Regions from separate parts of the Homo sapiens genome. Here region 2 is linked to region 1. The links are contacts of gene promoters, found by promoter capture Hi-C in blood cells and fetal thymus (Javierre and others, 2016). All regions are on one chromosome and are shown on one strand. The core of a region is centred on a gene start or on the middle of the fragment in contact, and the rest is flanking DNA. Distances in the headings are between cores, read along the strand shown.

What was found. The method cuts DNA at HindIII sites, captures the fragments that hold promoters and counts their contacts. A CHiCAGO score of 5 or more calls a contact.
Region 2: a contact is called between the fragment with the promoter of FAM167A-AS1 here and a fragment that was not itself captured in region 1, in 5 of 17 cell types (naive B cells, total B cells, M0 macrophages and 2 more). The highest score is 8.4, in naive B cells.

What each region holds. Positions count from the first base shown.
Region 1 is chr8:11,733,212-11,737,205 of GRCh38, reverse strand. All of the region lies in intron 2 of GATA4 (GATA binding protein 4), which reads right to left. Among named protein-coding and RNA genes, the nearest start is that of LINC02905, 26 kb to the left of the region's middle. RefSeq lists enhancers at 1-198, 757-806, 951-1,451. The HindIII fragment of the contact is 3,923 bases long and covers 162-3,994 here.
Region 2 is chr8:11,366,754-11,370,747 of GRCh38, reverse strand. FAM167A-AS1 (FAM167A antisense RNA 1) reads right to left here and starts at 2,346. Exons shown (of 7, transcript NR_026814.1): 1 at 2,296-2,346. It also overlaps the pseudogene TDH. The HindIII fragment of the contact is 6,691 bases long and covers 221-3,994 here.

The DNA of each region.
Region 1 (3,994 bases), core at 874-3,373:
GAGGCGAGCAAGGGTGTAGAAATTTATACGTGGGGACTGTTTTCCCCTCTCGGGGGTGTCTGGGGGATTACTTAATCAAACCGAGGTTAAGCTCCAATCGCCATCACTTTACATCTTCTTCTCCTGCTAATCCACCGAGTCACCCTGCTACCCTGAAAGCTTTTTGCATGAAATATGGAGTCTAAGCCAAGTTGCAAGGGATCTGTTTAGTTCTAAGTTCAGTTAACACAAAACAAAACAAAAAATAAGAATGAAGACCACATTACCAGGGCCAGGAGACAATGCCCTGCAGTCGTGGACCTGGGCAGCACACATTTTGCCTATATAGGCCTCAGATCTTCTTTGTAAAAGGAAGGTGTTAGACCAGATGACTTAGGTGCTTCCTAGTGTGAAAAGAATCTAGATAATATCAGATCAAATGCTAACGCTATACCTTACTCTGCACCAGTGATTCTTCTGTCACTTTTTTTTTAAGCTGCAGAACTCTTTCTTCAAAGAAAATCTAATCTGAGGAAGCCCAACATTAAAGACAGAGGAATGCAATTGACTGGGTGAAAGGGTGGCTCCGCCTTCTGCCCACCACTCCTCCAGGTCCACATCCACACCCCCCGGGGTCTTGACGAAGGTCCTCCAGCCTCTAGAGGGCGCCCTGGGCTGCAGAGTTCCTGCCAAGCGCTGCTCAGGGCTCTCCTGATGCAGTGAACGGGGTCCGCCCCTGGCTTCGCTATCAGAAGCCACGCAGACCAGACTTAAAGGCAGAGGCAGGGGCAATTCCAGACGCAAGTAGAGGTGGACGCCTTAGCCAACAGTCATTTCACCTCTCTTGGTCTGGTCTCCACAACTCAAAAGTGCAGTAGTTGGAACAGATGATTTCTAGGCTCCTACCTGTGAAAGCATTCAACGTGGCACTGCATTCTAACTCTCATTTATGTTTTTAGTCCCTGTCCCCTTCAATTTGTGTTTAAATTACGCAATTTTTAATTGCTACAAAAATTCAAACAGGCCAGGCATGGTGGCTCTGGCCTGTAATCCCAGCCCTTTGTGAGGTCGGAGTATGGCTTGAGCTCAGGAGTTCAATACCAGCCTGGGCAACATAGTAACACCACATCTCTTAAATAAAATAATAATTAGCTGGGCTTGGTGGCCCTCGCCTGTAGTCTCAGCTACTCCAGAGGCTGAGGTAGGAGGATCACTTGAGCCTGGGACTTCAGGCCTGCAAGCGAGTTATGATCGCACCACCACACTCCAACCTGGGTGACAAAGCAAAACCCTATCTCAAAAAAAAATTTTTTTTTTCAAACAGGCAAACGGTACAGAAGAATGTCACGTAGAAACAAAAGGTCTCAGCTAGGCGCGGTGGCTCACGCCTGTAATCCCAGCATTTTGGGAGGCCGAGGCGGGCGGATGACCTTAGGTCGGGAGTTCGAGACCAGCCTGACCAACATGGAGAAACCCCATCTCTACTAAAAATACAAAATTAGCCAGCGTGGTGGCACATGCCTGTAATCCCAGCTACTGGGGAGGCTGAAGCAGAAGAATCGCTTGAACCCGGAAGGAGGAGGTTGCAGTGAGCCGAGATTGCACCATTGCACTCCAGCCTGGGCAATAAGAGCAAAACTCCGTCTCAAAAAAGAAAGAAAGAAAGAAACAAACAAACAAACAAAAAGTCTCCACCATCACCATGATCCCATCTCCAGGGGCAGAGGTGGCTAACAATTTTCCTGTTTTTCCAGATATCTTCCACTGCATTAATTAACATTTTTATTTTTAGAAATTTTAAAATTACATAAAAACACAAAGGACACTGTAACAATTCTGTTTATTCCCCCACCATCTGCTATCCAATCACTATATTGAATTTAGTGTATATCCTTCCAATTAATCTATATACTTCTACACACAGGGATAAATGTTCCTCTGAAGAACATAAGCATTGCTTTGCAATTTTAAAGATTTACATGAATGCTTTCTTTAAAAAATATGAAATATTTCAGTCACTGAGAAAAAAATATATAGCAAACACTCTTAAACCCACCACCAGCTTTTTCAAATCTTTGTTTTACCATATTTCCTTCAGATGTTTTTAAAGAAATACAACATTGCAGATACAGTAGATGCCTCTGTGTAACCCACAATTCCAGTCTCTTTTTTGCCTATTATGTTTCCCAGTTTTAATTATACATGTGGATCTGCTTTATTTGAGTTGATTTACAGTTTTCCATTATATTAATAAATCACATTTTACTTGTTCATTTCTTTATGGTTATGGACTAAACGTCTGTGAATAACCCAAATTTAGATCTTGCAATCCTAACCCACATGTGATGGTATTTGGAGGTTGGGCATTTGGGAGGTGAACAGGCCATCGGACGGAGCCCTCATGAATGGGATTAGTACCCTTATAAGAAGAGACAGAGGCTGGGCACGGTGGCTCACTCTTGTAATCCCAGCCCTTTCGGAGGCCGAGGCAGGGGGATCACCTGAGGTCAAGAGTTCGAGACCAGACTGACCAACATGGTGAAACCCCCCCATCTCTACTAAAGATACAAAAATTAGCCGAGCATGGTGGTGCATGCCTGTAATCCCAGCAACTCAGGAGGCTGAGGCAGGAGAATTGCCTGAACCCAGGAGGCGGAGGTTGCAGTGAGCCGAGGTTGCGCCATTGCATTCCAGCCTGGGCAACAAGAGCAAAACTCTGCCTCAAAAAAAAGAAAAGAAAAGACAGAATAGATATCTCCCTACACCCACCCCATGAGTGGATGCAGTGAGATGATGGTCTTCTGCAAAGCAGGCTTGGGTCTCTCACCAGACACCAATCTGCCAGTGCCGTGATCTTGGGCTTCCTGGCTTCCAGAACTTTGAGAAATAAGCGTTGTTAAAGCCACACATTCTATGGTATTCTGTTACAGCAACCTAAACTGGCTAAGACACTTACTGATATATATTCAGATTGTTTTCAGTTTTTTGCTGTAATAGCAATGCTTCATCAGGCATCCTTGTACATGTCTGTTTATACACATGAGAAAAGTGTATCTAGGATATAGGAGATATATTTTAGCCATGTTCAAATGTATATGTATAAAACACTTATGCTTGGTTTGGTGCTGTTTAAGCTGTTATGCTGTAACAAACAAATAGTTATTTGTTTGCTGTTCACATTACATGTCAGCTGCAAGTTGGCCGAAATTCTATATGTATGCTTCAATTGGACATGCAGGCCGAAGGCAAAACCTCTATGTGGTTCATGCCAGCCTCGTGGCAGGGGGCAAAAAGTAATGACAGAACCACGTAATGGCTCTTAATGCCTCTGTGTGGAAGTTGCATAGTGACTTCGAGTCACATATTCTTGATCAAAGCAAGTCTCATAGCCAAGCCTGTGTCATCGGGGTGGTGGAAATAATCCTCACCAGAAATGGGCTCCCTCAGTACAGGAAAGAACAGAGCAGTGTGCTGAACACACGTGGGATCATACCATGGATACTCCTCTGCAGCTGTTTCTGCAGGGACGCATATCTGTTTAGACATTTTTCCATATCAGCACAGATCTACTTCTCTCTTCGAAGAGGATTTATTAGTTTGGCATTGTTAAGGCACATAACACTTACATTCTACTCCATAATTCTCACAGCTGTTTAGCTGTACATGATATTTGAAAGGATTCAATGCTAATGCCAATCTTTTTATGCCACAGCCTCCCCATTCCTAATACCTTGGCTGCATTTCAGCAAGTAATTTTTCACTGCTACACACAACAGGGCTGCAATGAACATCACTGCTTTAGCTTCCGTGCCAGTGTGTCTCTAGTTTGTTTTGATTTCTGATAAGGCAAGTTCCCCTTTCTTAAGTCTCCTTTTAAAAAATTATCTTGGCTATTCTTGTACAATAACTCTTTCATATAAATTTTATAATCAGCTGGACACGTTGTATTTAAGAAATCTTGCTGGGATGTTTCCTGAGACTGTGTTAAATTTATAGATTTGTTTGAGGGAGTTTG
Region 2 (3,994 bases), core at 1,097-3,596, 370 kb after region 1:
TACATTTTCTAGGTGCCTTGAATATTAAAAAATTGGGAAAGTACAACCTTGGAGGCAGCTACTTGTTCTGGTTCATTCTTTCATACTACAACTTAAATTACAAATTATATTTAAACTTCTTACAGCAATGTAGGTACAGAAGAATTGTACTTACAGCGTAAAGAAAGAACTGGGCAAAATAATTTTTAAATTTTTGACCTTTTAACAAAAGAGAAAAGCTTTTCTTAAGGACTTCAGACAAATGGATCAACAGACAAGGTATCACATATACTCCCAAAATAAGGCAGAGTTATCTCCCGAAACTATCCCCTTAGGGATGCTCACCTTATATTTGAAACATTACACTCTTTCAGGATATACTAAATGCTGTCGGTAACCTGAAAAGAATACAAGTTATTGTTCTGTGGAAACATTATTAGCCTCAAACAACCTTAAGCAATGCTAATATTGTGGCTGGTAGGATAAGTTGTAAAGGAGGCACATTAACAGTCACGGTCTCTAGGATTATAAAGCTACAGTTACAAGTATTTGGTGTCACTGGAAAGAAGCCTGTTAAAAATCGAAAGCAATGCTCTGTGGATTCTGAAAAGCAGCTGCCCTAGTGCTACCTACACACAGGCATACTTGTGGCTTGGGATAAATGTCCACCAACAGCATCATACATAGACCCCGAAACTGCTGCATCCCAAACAACTTAGAAAGAAAAAAGATCATCTGCTCTTAACCTATTAGGGGATGCCAAAGGGGGCACCAAGATCAAATACGAAGTCGGAGTGACATGCCTGAAATGCGAATGTGAAGAGGGAAAGCCCACATGCTGGTTAATAGATTAACAAATCTGAAACACCTGCAACTAATAGTACAGGTGTCTATTTTATCCTCTCATCTACAATCCTAAACTTTATATATGTAAGTTGGCTAAAAAAAAGTTTTCTGGGATCTTCACATTGGAAGGTAAGGGGTGGCCTGTTTAGCTACCTTATAGACAAACATACTAAAGCTATAAAAACAGTGCCATGAAATAATTTTTTTTAAAGTGACTACCCTAAAAAAAAATCATTAAAAAACAAGATTCCTTTCTCACCGGTGATTTTTGGAAGCAATTCACTGATTTAGAGGCAGTTATCATCCGGTTATGTGAGATCTAGGATTTATTCACTCACGGCTCTTGTATTAGAATGTTAAGATTCTCCAGCAAAAAATGAAGTTTATATTCTTCAAACCTTTTAGAAAAATAAAACTTTCAACTGATCCTGTTGCCTCAGCCTCCCAAAAGTGCTGGGATTACAAGTATGAGTCATTGCACCCAGCCACAAAAATAAAACTTTTCAACAAATGTAAACCATACTGAGGTCCATGAATATGTGCCAAGAGGAAGGTGTTGATGGTCGAGAATTTCATCACAAATTAATCCAACTCGTTCCGAAGATAAATTTGACCACATAAAATGAAGAGGCAAGTAGGTGTTTACGCCCTGTGACCCAGTAATTGTACTTCTAGGTTTCAGCAATTAAATAGAATGACATCATTATGATACTCCATTCAACGAGTTATGCAGCTATCTTTAAATGGCAAATGTTAAAACTACATGTAAGTTCTTTGTAACGCATAGAGGACTGGAGAATATTTTAAAACAGCTACCATGTGACATGGCAAAAATTGAAAGTGAGTCTTTTCCAAAACTTTTGACAATATTGTCTTAGCACTACTTTTATAGTAAAAGAAAAGAAAAAGGTTTCACCTTCCACTCCTAGATTGTATAAGCACAGGAGAAAATAAAAGGTATACACTAGTTTTTTTGTGTGTTGTTGTTTGAGATGGTCTCGCTCTGTGGCTCAGGCTGGAGTATGGTGGCGCAAGCATAGCTCATTGCAGCCTCAAACTCCTGGCTACAAGTGATCCCTCAGCTTCAGCCACGTGAGTAGCAGCTACAGGTGTGCATCACCACATCTGGCTTAAATTATTTTTGTAGAGATGAGAGTCTTGCTATGTTGTCCAGGCTGGTCTTGAACTCCTGGCTTTAAGCAATCCTCCTGCCTCAGCCTCCTAAAGTACTGATTACAGGTGTGAGCCACTGCACTGGGTCCCACACTACACTGCTAACATGTTATTGATTGGGTTTGGAGGGGAAGACAACTTTATTATATATCTTTTAAATTGTCTGAACTCTTAATAAACATTTTTTTAAAATGACAGAATTTAAAGCATTTTCTGAACACCCTTACCATAAAATACAATCACAAATTGGTGATTTGGCCTATGTGAATTAAAAAATACTAAATATCTCCCACCTACCATAGTAAGTGTCCAAAGCACTGCAGTAGCTTTCACTAATCCAGTCTGTTCTGGACTCCAGGCCATCTATCTTGCTGGCAGACTTCGGGATCGCTGTTTGTGTAGCAACACAAGGCACATCCCAGCAACGCCACACACAAACATGTGAGCAGAAAACTAATAACCACCGGTAGCCTGTGTAAAACATCAGAACAAAGCCAATCTTTGTATTCTTTCTTTTTTATTTATAAATAAACTATTTTTGTGGTTAAACCCACTTTTCCTTCAAATAGCTTTTTGGGTTATTTCCAAATTAATCATAAAAAACCCTTTCTCCCAACAGAACGGAAAGCATTTTACAGGAAAACATTGATGGGCTCCGGGATCCCAAGATGTGCACCAGATACTGAGTGTTCAGACAGAAGGGACAACTCTAATTCTAGTCTTGGAGTACAAAGATGTCAGTGAATAAGAATCATCCAAAGAAGCTGAAGCATTCATTATTTTTTCACTCTTATTTGAGATCTCCTGGAGGTGTGTTTACAGATTGGGAAAGATTCAAGGAACCTGTTTGGAACAAACCCCTCCAAATGATCCGAATTAAAGGTCATTCTAGGAGCCTGGTAGAAATGCTGGAAGGTTAGGGTCTAGGAGACAAAGGTCACTCGAGTTGCTGCTTCTTATCTTATGAAAGGGAAGAATTGCTTGTTCCTTTAAGATAACTGAGAATAAATTAATCAAACTTAAGAACTGTTTTTTAAACTATAAACAGTAAGCAATCATTTTAAAACTCAATTATCTACCCAAATGTTCACAGCAGCATTATTCATAATAGCTTAAAAAGTGCAAAAAACCTAAATGTCCCTCAATGGATGAATGGATAGAGAAAATAAGAGGATTACTCATACAATGGAATATTACTTAGCAATAAAAAATGAAGTAGTGATACATGCTAAAACATGGATGAACCTTGAAAATGGACTGCTTAATTAAAGAAGCCACTAAAAGACAACCACATTCCACTTACATAAAATGCTCAGAACAGACAAACCCAGGGACAGAAGAAGTACATTAGTGGTTGCCGAGGGTGGGAAGGGCTTATATAATATGATTTCTTTGTGGGGTGATGAAATGGCCTAAAATTAGATTATAGTGATGGTTGCAAAACTTTTTAATACATTGAAAACCACAGAACTATAAATGAGTGAATTTTATGGTATGTAAACTATATCTCAAACTTTCAAAAAAAGAATTCATTACTAACTTTCTGATTTTAAAAAATAAAATCTTCCTGCCTCTCAAGAGCAGCCCAAAAGAAAAATAACAAAAAAATAAAATCTACAAACATAAACCTTATTAAGTGGAGGAAAAAGCTACAGTAATGTAACTGTTAAACAATTCAATTACCTAAAAGTTCTCCAGTTAATAGTCAAATAGATTTTAAATCCAGTTATGCCTTCAAAAAAATCCACGCTTTGACCTAACAGTTCAAAACTCCAAATGCATAACATTTTGTTATTAAGCATGCAACATAAATAAACGCCTTTTAATCCTTGATAGCTGTTATCAAATATATCCATGATTAATCTGTGGAACTGGAAGTTTCACTTCCTAGTGATTTTACATGCAGTACATTCCGAGGTCGCTGGAAAAAAGTTAACCTGTACGTGTCTATACAGTATTGCACCAGAAATATTTTTTTAAATGACCGGATTGAAAG